Regions from separate parts of the Homo sapiens genome. Here region 1 is linked to region 2. Evidence: promoter capture Hi-C in human tissues and cell types (Jung and others, 2019). All regions are on one chromosome and are shown on one strand. Each heading gives the region's core, a stretch centred on a gene start or on the middle of the fragment in contact. The rest is flanking DNA. Distances are from core to core; before and after follow the strand shown. Region 1 overlaps MYO9B (myosin IXB). Region 2 holds the start of EPS15L1 (epidermal growth factor receptor pathway substrate 15 like 1).

Region 1 (4,600 bases), core at 1,752-4,251, 700 kb after region 2:
AAAAAAAATTTGAGATGGAGTTTCTGCGAAAAAAAATTTTTTTATTAACCAGGCATATAGTGGCACATGCCTGTAGTCCTAGCTACTGGGGAGGTTGAGGCAGGTGGATCACTCGAGCCCAGGAGTTTGAGGCTACAGTGAGCTGTGATCGCACCGCTGCACTCCAATGTAGGCAACAGTGTGAGACCCTGTCTCTTAAAAGAAAAAAAGAAAATGTGAAGATTCCTGTTGGACAACATAGCTCTGGAACAGGGGCCAGCAAACCACAGCCTGTGGGTCAAATCCAGTCCCACAAATTGTTTTTATAAATAAAGCTTTATTGGCACATAGCCTTTGGTTTGCATTATCATCTGTGGCTGTTTTCACATCACGACTGTTAGTTGCAACAGACATTGTCTGGTTCATAAGGTGCTATCTGGCCCATTACAGAGAAAGTTTGCCAACCTCTAAATGATTTTAAGTGTGATTTTTTTTTTTTCTTGAGGCAGAGTCTTGCCCTGTCATTCAGGCCGGAGTGCAATGGTGCAATCTCGGTTCACTGCAACCTCCACCTCCCAGGTTCTAGTGATTCTCCTGCCCCAGCCTCCCCAGTAGCTGGGGTCACAGGTGTGTGCCACCAGGCCCGGCTAATTTTTGTATTTTTAGTAGAGACAGGGTTTCACCATGTTGGCCAGGTTGGTCTTGAACTCCTAACTTCAGGTGATCTGCCCACCTCAGCCTCTCAAAGTGCTGGGATTACAGGCGTGAGCCACCACGCCCAGCCCTTGTGTGATATTTAAAGTGCCATGCTGTGATCAGTATTTAAGAATGTGCATTCTTGTTTCCTGTTTACAATCATTCATTTATCTAGTAAGTTTATGTAACTATTAATGTATTCATATTGATTTACTCATATGCATTTTGTTACTGATATATTTATGTTTTTTTTTTTCACTTTGAAGTTCAGGGGTACATGTGCAGATTTGTTACATAGGTAAACTTGTGTCATGGGGGTTTGTTGTACAGATTATTTCATCACCCAGGTATTAAACCTAGTACCCACTAGTTATTTTTCCTGATCCGCTCACTCCTCCCACCCTCCACCCTCCAATAGGCCCCAGTGTGTGTTGTTCCCCTCTATGTGTCCATGTGTTCTCATCATTTGGCTCCCTCTTATAAATAAGAACATGCAATATTTGGTTTTCTGTTCCTGCATTAGTATGCTAAGGGTAATGGCCTCCAGCTCCATCCATGTTCCTGCAAAGGACATGACCTCATTCCTTTTTTATGGCTGGGTAGTATTCCTTGATGTATATGCACCACATTTGCTTTATCCATTAGTGGGCATTTAGATTACTTATTTGTTATTGTGAATAGTGCTGCAAAGAACACACACATGCAGATACATTTATATGTAAACATGCCTATTGATACATAAATATGTTCCTACAGTGTGGGGATCCCTTATCCAAACTGCTTGGGAGCAGAAGTGTCTCAGGTTTGGGATTTTTTTCAGATTTTTCAATATTTATATTATACTTACTGGTTGAACATCCCAAATCTGAAAATCCAAAATCTGAAATGCTTCAATGAGCGTTGTCTTTGAGCATCACATAACATTGGCAGTCCAAAAGTTTTGGATTTTTTTTTTTTTTTTTGAGATGGAGTCTTGCTATATTGCCCGGGCTGGTCTCAAACTCCTGGACTCAAGCCATCCTCCAGCCTCAGTAAAGTATTTTTTACTTTTTATTTTTTGCACAGACAGGATCTTGCTATGTTGTCCAGGCTGGTCTTGAACTCCTGGCCTCAAGCGATCCTACCACCTTGGCCTCTCAGTTACTTTTTATGTCAGTTACATGTTAACATGATCACATTTTGGATATATCATGTTAAATTAAGTGTATTATTAGAGCTATTTTTTTTTTTTTTTTTTTGTGACGGAGTTTCGCTCTTGTTGCCCAGGCTGGAGTAGGACTAATGGCGCAATCTTGGCTCACTGCAACCTCCACTTCCCGTGTTCAAGCGATTTTCCTGCCTCAGCCTCCTGAGTAGCTGGGATTACAGGCTTGTGCAACCACGCCTGGCTAATTTTGTATCTTTAGTAGAGATGGGATTTTGCTATGTTGGTCAGGCTGGTCTCAAACTCCTGACCTCAGGTGATCCACCTGCCTTGGCCTCCCAAAGTGCTGGGATTACAGGCGTGAGCCACTGTGCCCAGCCCTATTAGAGTTAATTTTAAGCCACGCATCAGTTTAAAAAGTTTCCTATTTTGAAGCATTTCAGATTTTCGGATTAGGGATACTCGACCTGTATGCAATATATGTTATGTAGATATTACATATCTGGGAGATAAGAAACTTACCGACCCCGCGCCACCCCTGCAGGAGGAATATCAGGGCGAGGGGATCACGTGGCACAACATCGGCTACACAGACAATGTCGGCTGCATCCATCTCATCAGCAAGAAACCCACGGGCCTCTTCTACCTGCTGGACGAGGAGAGCAAGTGAGTGTCCACACCCCGTCCATCCCGGCACATCTACGCATGGGCACTGGGTCAGGTTCTGCAGCCCCCAGAGCCTTACCCCAAATCCAGACTTTCCCAAGAGCGCCTTTTTATTTTTGAGACAGGGTCTCACTCTGTCACCCAGGCTGGAGTGTAGTGGTGCAATCAAAGCTCACTGCAGCCTTGACCTCCTGGGCTCAAGTGATCCCCTGACGTGAGCCTCTGGAGTAGCTGGGACTACAGGGTCACACCACCATACCCGGCTAATTTTTGTATTTCTTTGTAGCAACAGGGTTTCGTCATGTTTTCCAGGCTGGTCTTGAACTCCTTAGCTCAAGGGATCCTCCCGCCTTGGCCTCCGAGAGTACTGGGATTACAGGCGTGTGCCACCACGCCAGACCTTGTGCTGAGAACTTGTGTCTGTTCATTTCACTTGACCACAAAACCCAAGCTCGTGTGTGCAAAATGCACAAACACCTCATTGTGAAAACATCAACACGTGTGATTAATTCGTGCACTTGAGGCACATCCGCCAGGAGTTTTCAGCAAAGGATTATGGGCCTATGCCTAGAAACTAGACACTGGGGCCAGACGTGGTGGGGCATACCTGTGGCCCCAGCTACTCAGGAGGCTGAGACAGGAGGATCACTTGAGCCTGGGAGGTTGAGGCTGCAGGGAGCTGTGATCGTGTCACTGCACTCCAGCCTGGGCAATGGAGCAAGAGACAGGATTGGCGAGTTGTTACAAAGGGCAGTGCAGTGTGTGGAATTGGGACCCAGATGCTGCTGGGCTCTGGTCTCACTTCTGAGCCTTCCTCCCTCATCCCCACAGTCCACAGGGCGCTGTGAAGGCAGACAGGTCAATAAGGCACCTCATTCTGGGTCACCCAGTTGTAGTCACTGAAATCACGTGACACATACCGAACTACTTTCCTGTGGCTCCTCTAAGGAACCGCTACAAGCCAGGTGGGCTCTTGAGCCCAGGAGATCAAGACCAGCCTGGGCAACACAGAAAGATTCCACCTCGGCCAGGCACAGTGGCTCACGCCTGTAATCCCAGCACTTTGGGAGGCCGAGGCAGGCGGATCACCTGAGGTCAGGAGTTGGAGACCAGCCTGGCCAACATGGTGAAGCCCCGTCTCTACTGAAAATACAAAAATTAGCCGGGCATGGTGACAGGCGCCTGTAATCCCAGCTACTCAGGAGGCTGAGGCAGGAAAATTGCTTGAACCTGGGAGGCGGAGGTTGCAGTGAGCGGAGATCACTCCATTGCACTCCAGCCTGGGTGACAGACCAAGACTCTGTCTCAAAAAAAAAAAAAAAAAAAAAGATTCCATCTCTACAAAAAAATTTTTAACCAGCCTGGCCAACATGGCAAAACCCCATCTCTACTAAAAATGCAAAAATTAGCCAGGCATGGTGGCGGGTGCCTATAATTCCAGCTACTTGGGAGGCTGAGGCAGGAGAATTGTTTGAACCCGGGAGGTGGAGTTCTTAAAACCACAGTAATCTATTCTCTTATGGTTCTGGAAGCTGGAAGTCTAAAGTCAAACTGTCAGCAGAGCTGTGCTGCCTCCAGAGGCTCCAAGGGAGGACCCTTTCTTGCCTCCTCCAGCTTCTAGGGGTCCAAGCTTTCCTTGGCTTTTGGCCACATCACTCCAGTCCCTGCCTCCCTCTTCCTCTTCACATGGACTTCTTCCCTCTGTGTCTGCATCATTCATCTCAATCCTGTCTCCTCCTTTTTTTTTTTTTTTTTTTTTTTTTTTTTGAGACAGGCTCTTCTTGCTCTGTTGCCCAGGCTGGAGGGTAGTGGCGCCATCTTGGCTCAAGTTAATTGGCGTCATCTCAGCTCACTGTAACCCCCACCTCCCAGGATCAAGCGATTCTCGTGTCTCAGCCTCCCGAGTAGCTGGGATCACAGGTGCCTTGCCACCATGCCCAGCTAATTTTTGTATTTTTAGTAGAGATGGGGTTTTTTCACCATGTTGGCCAGGCTGCTTAAAAATTTTTTTTTGTAGAGATGGAATCTCCCTGTATTGCCCAGGCTAGTCTTGAACTCCTGGGCTCAAGCAGTCCTCTCACCTTGACCTCCCAAAGTGCTGGGACCATAGGTGTG
Region 2 (5,186 bases), core at 539-3,038:
CACGAGCCTCGCCAAAATGGTGAAACCCCGTCTCCACTAAAAAAAAAATACAAAAATTAGCCGGGTGTGGTAGCACGTGCCTGTAGTCCCAGCTACTCAGGAGGCTGAGGCAGGAGAATCACTTGAACTCGGGAGGCGGAGGTTACAGTGAGCTGAGATCATGCCACTGCACTCCACCCTGGGTGACAGAGCAATACTCCATCTCAAAAAAAAAAAAATTGGACAGGAAGTTTTAGAAAGATCCACGCCTCCCAAACTGGGAGTGCTTAGTGCTTTCTCATGAAATGATCTTAGGTGATTTTCCCCCGACTCCCGCCTTCCCCGCCCCCCACCCCCTGACTACATACTCTAAACTGTAGCACTTAGCTATTAACACCTATTATCGGTAGGACACTTAACAGTTTACAGAGCACTTTCATGTCAGTAACAAGAACTTGCTAATTAATAATCACCGGGTTTTAGCACTGTTAACTTAGTGACAGTGTTGCAAATTGGCTAGCTGTGCACTTCTCTCTCCTTGGATCAGCTAACCAGTCATGCAAGCATGCAACCGGCCTATCAACTCTCTTTGGGTTTGGAATTCTTAATTGCTGCGGTCTCTACTCCCAAACGTCCAAATCTGGCAGAGATTAAATGATGACAGTAATTATAGGATCACTGAGTGCCTCTCATATGCTAGGCACTGTTCTAAGCGCTTTTTCACGTGCTTAATTTTCACATAATCCCAACACATTTTTATATCTCCATTTTCCAAAGGAAGCAACTGATGGGTGGAATGGCTAAGAGCTTCAACCAAAGGCACAGAGAAATCGGGGCTGGAGCCAAGATTTGAACACATGATCTGACCCTGTGTCCTCACTCTTAATCACCATGCTGTGCTAGATCATTCTAGCAAAATGCTTATATGGTGCTTTGCACAACACAGGTATTCAGCAAATAAAGGCAGCTGTGATTAGCATAACACAGGTAGTTTCTAGTTCCCACGAGTGTCACCTCCAGGAAAGCAGCGACCTTGTCTGTCTGGAAGAATGCAGCGCTCCCAGCACCTGACCCAACGCACATTTGAGGGATGGATAGAAAATGAATGAATGAAAGTCTCTCCCAAATAACAGAGCTGCCTACGCATGGCTCTTTTTCGCATGTCTGTGTCGCGCTATCGATACTGCCCCTTCATAAGCGCATCAGGCGAATTTGAGGACACAGAGAGGCGCCCGGAGACGTACGATCTGCGCCCGGTGCAGGGGTGGCGGAAGCAGCTTCCAAGGAGGCAGGGGATCAGTCTGAGATCGCACTGCTGCTGACGGGTCCGGGCTCCGGCGGGACCCTGCCCGCCCGGGCGCCGGGACCGGAGGGAGACAAAGACTCGCTGGGCCGCCGCGCCGACAGAAACGCTCGCACCCCTCGCCCACCCCTCCGGGATGCAGCCCAGCGCCTCCGCGGGTCCCCGGCCTGGGAGCTTCAGCGGCGGCAGGGTCCGGGCCCTGGGCGGAGAGGACACGCGCTGCGCACCTCCTCGCCTCGCCGGTGCCCGCGAGGGTCGCTCGGGCACGGGAGGCCGCGGGTCCCGGCCTGTCACCTTCAGGGCCGCCTGCCCACCCGCCCGCCGCAAGCCCTTCAGCACGCGCCGCCCCCGCCGCCGCCTGGCTGAGTCTCCCAGCGCCTCAGCCTCGCCGCACCGCTCGCCTCGCGCCCCGCACCCCGGCGCCGCCCCCAGGCCCGCCCGGCCCGTACCTGCTGGGAGAGGGGGATGAGCGGCGCCGCCATCTTCCCGCGGACTCGGGCTCCGAGCGCCGGGGGAACGGGGGCGGGGCTGCAGCCACGCGTGCGCACTGGGACGACGGGAGGGCGGTGCGCAGGCCGCCTGTCCCGGGAGAGGGCGGGGCCGTAGACAGGGCCACGCATGTGCAGTCAGGCCGGGAGGGGCGGGGGCAGGGGCGGGGCCGCCCACACGCAGCCTGGAGGGGCTGGGCCTGAGGCATCTGCGTCTTCCGTGCTCTCTTGCCCGTTCCCCTACTCCTCCTTCCAACGTTGTTCGGACTCTCATGCCGCTGGCCGCTGTCCGAGTCGACCATGCTGTGTCATCCCTCCAGCCCATGCCGAGGCCTGGTTCTCTGTTAGGGATGCCGTCCCCCTGCCAGTGCGCCTGGGGAGGCGGTCGCCCACCCCGCGGAGGGTCGGGACCCTCACCCTGCCCCGCAAAGCGCCCTGTTCCTAGGATCGCAGTGTGTGTGTGTGTGTGTGTGTGTGTGTGTGCGCGCTAATTTGGGGGACCCGCACCCTGCCCCCCTCACCCTGCCCCGCAAGGCGTCCTCCTGGCTGTGGTGGCGGGCACCTGAAATCCAAGCTACTCAGGAGACTGAGGCAGGAGAATTGCTTGAGCCCAGGAAGCAGAGGTTTCAGTGAGCCAAGATCACACCATTGCAATCCAGCCTGGGCAACAGAAGCGAAACTCTGTCTCAAAAATAAATAAATAAATAAGACAAGAACCCACTTGTTGCCAGGTACAGTGGCTTACACCTGTAATCCCAGCACTTTGGGAGGCCGAGGTGGGAGGGTCATGAGGTCAGGAGTTGGAGACCAGCCTGGCCAGTATGGTGAAACATCAATATGGTGAAACCCCATCTCTACTAAAAAAAATACAAAAATTAGCAGGTGTGGTGGTGCATGCCTGTAGTCCCAGCTACTCAGGAGGCTGAGGCCAGAGAATCACTTGAACCCGGGAGGTGGAGGTTGCGGTGAGCCAAGATTGCACCACTGCACTCCAGCCTGGGTGACAGAGTGAGACTCTGTCTCAAAACAAAGTCAAAAACAAAAAGAACCCACTTGTAACTGTTGCTAATCAAAGCATACATTCAGGGCAACTTGAATCTGTGTCTCCTGGACTGCGGTCCTCAACCTTGGCCCAAACTCTCTACTTATATTAACTTTGCCTCAGCTTCTTTTGTTACATCAATAGAGTAATGAAGGTTTTTAACAGTCTTGAGTGCTTTATCAGTACGTATTCCATAAGGAAAAGAGAAGTCCTTCTAGGTACTTCAAACAGAGGATATTGAATACAGGGGATTGAGCCAGGCTCTGTGGCTCACACTTGTAATCCCAGCAATCCAGTTGAGACAGGTAGATTGATACCAGCCTGGCCAACATGGAGAAACCCCATCTTTACTAAAAATACAAAAATTAACCCAGTGCAGTGGCAGGTGCCTGTAATCCCAGCTACTCAGGAGGCTGAGGCAGGAGAATTGCTTGAACCTGGGAGGGGAAGGTTGCAATAAGCTGAGAACTCACCATTGCACTCCAACCTAGGTGACAGAGCGAGACTCTGTCTAAAAAATAAATAAATAAAAATAAATGAATACATAAACGACTACAGGGGACTGAGTATAAAAGTGTTGGAAGTACTGGAAGAACAAAAGAGGAAGGTAAGTTTACCTAAAGATTCATAACTATATGAGGCTGCTAGCCTCTCTAGAGCTGAAAGATTAAAGCAGGGGAGGTGGCTGGGCATAGTGGCTCACGCCTGTAATCCCAGCACTTTGGGAGGCCGAGGTGGATGGATCACCTGAGGTCAGAAGTTTGAGACCAGCCTGGCCAACATGATGAAATCCCGTGTCTACTAAAAATACAAAAATTAGCCGGTTGTGGTGGTGGGCACCTGTAATCCCAGCTACTCGGGAGGCTGAGGCAGGAGAATCACTTGAACCTGGGAGGCGGAGGTTGCAGTGAGCTGAGATCACGCCACTGCACTCCAGTTTGGGCAACAAGAGCGAAACTCCGTCTCAAAATAAATAAATAAATAAAGCACAGGAGGACCCATAACCCACAATCACTGTGCCTACAGAAGGATCCCAGATGTGTTCACCCTTGCTAGCCACAGTTGCCTCCACCATGATTGCGAAAGTCACAGTTGTTGTTGTCACCACCACCTAAGCCACTGGCAGAAGTCTGAAAAAATGGTTTCTCCCCTCTTTCTGCCTCCCAACTTTGTTCTAATAAAGCATGACAGGAACGTTGCCAATTGGCAACGGCGTCCAGGAAATGTAGCATGCAGGCTTTAAGTGCCAGTATCAGAGTCTAGAATGGTGGTGGCCATAGAAACTCTCCAGCATCATCTTGTAAAAATAATCCAAACTTGGCTGGGCGCGGTGGCCCACACCTGTAATTCCAGCCCTTTGGAGGGCCGAGGCAGGCAGTTCACGAGGTCAGGAATTCGAGACCAGCCTGGCCAACACAGTGAAACCCCATCTCTACTAAAAATACAAGAATTAGCCAGGCGTGGTGGCGGGTGCCTGTAATCCCAGCTACTCGGGAGGCTGAGGCAGGAGAATTGCTTGAACCTGGGATGGGGAGGTTGCAGTGAGCCAAGATCGCACCATTGCACTCCAGCCTGGGCAACAAGAGCAAAACTCCGTCTCAGAAGAAAAAAAAGAAAAAAAAAAAGGCCGGGCATGGTGGCTCACGCCTGAAATCCCAACACTTTGGAAGGCCGAGGCAGGCAGATCATGAGGTCAGGAGATCGAGACCATCCTGGCCAACATGGTGAAACCCCATCTCTACTAAAAATACGAAAATTTAGCCGGGCATGGTGGGGGGTGCCTGTAGTCCCAGCTACTTGTGAGGCTGAGGCAGGAGAATGGCATGAACTCAGGAGGCGGGTCTTGCAGTGAGCCGAGATCGCGCCACTGCACTCCAGCCTGGGCAACACAGAAACTTCGTCTCAAAAAAAAAAAAAAAAATCCAAACTTAATCATACACTTTTGAACCCTAAGAATTATGTTGAGCCTTGAAGAAAACGGGACTGTGTGATCTGAGCCAGACAGCATGTAACTACAACTTCTGCTTATAGATTATAGATTAACTCTCCTGTTCTTGCTCTGTAGATTCATTTCAAGACTAAATGGCATCAGCGTTAAGATCGCCCTTCTTCATTGCTGACCTTTCCTCTATTATCTTGCACCTAAATCAGACCAGATAGTGCAAAAGGTCCTGTGACTGTTATGTCCTCTATGTGAATGTTAAATATACCCTTCCCAAAAAGACCACTGCCTTGACTAATCAGATTACTGTTAACTATGTACTTGCCTTGTGTGAAATATGTAGAAACGCTGTCAAGCTTCCCAAACCTTACCTATATAAATGACCCCCAAACTTCCTCAGTTTGGAATGCTGATTTCCATTCTTTGGAATCT

The links. Contacts are between HindIII fragments. The study calls those that stand out against the background at their distance.
Region 1: a fragment that was not itself captured here is called in contact with the fragment with the promoter of EPS15L1 in region 2 in 1 of the 25 tissues and cell types used here (aorta).

What each region holds. Positions count from the first base shown.
Region 1 is chr19:17,165,580-17,170,179 of GRCh38, forward strand. It overlaps MYO9B (myosin IXB), which reads left to right. Exons shown (of 40, transcript NM_004145.4): 11 at 2,364-2,485. Among named protein-coding and RNA genes, the nearest start is that of USE1, 47 kb to the right of the region's middle. The HindIII fragment of the contact is 6,459 bases long and covers 1-4,600 here.
Region 2 is chr19:16,470,182-16,475,367 of GRCh38, forward strand. It overlaps EPS15L1 (epidermal growth factor receptor pathway substrate 15 like 1), which reads right to left and starts at 1,789. Exons shown (of 24, transcript NM_001258374.3): 1 at 1,732-1,789. The coding sequence starts at 1,764. RefSeq lists enhancers at 967-1,878, 1,111-1,260 and silencers at 1,341-1,560, 1,621-2,020. The HindIII fragment of the contact is 15,921 bases long and covers 1-5,186 here.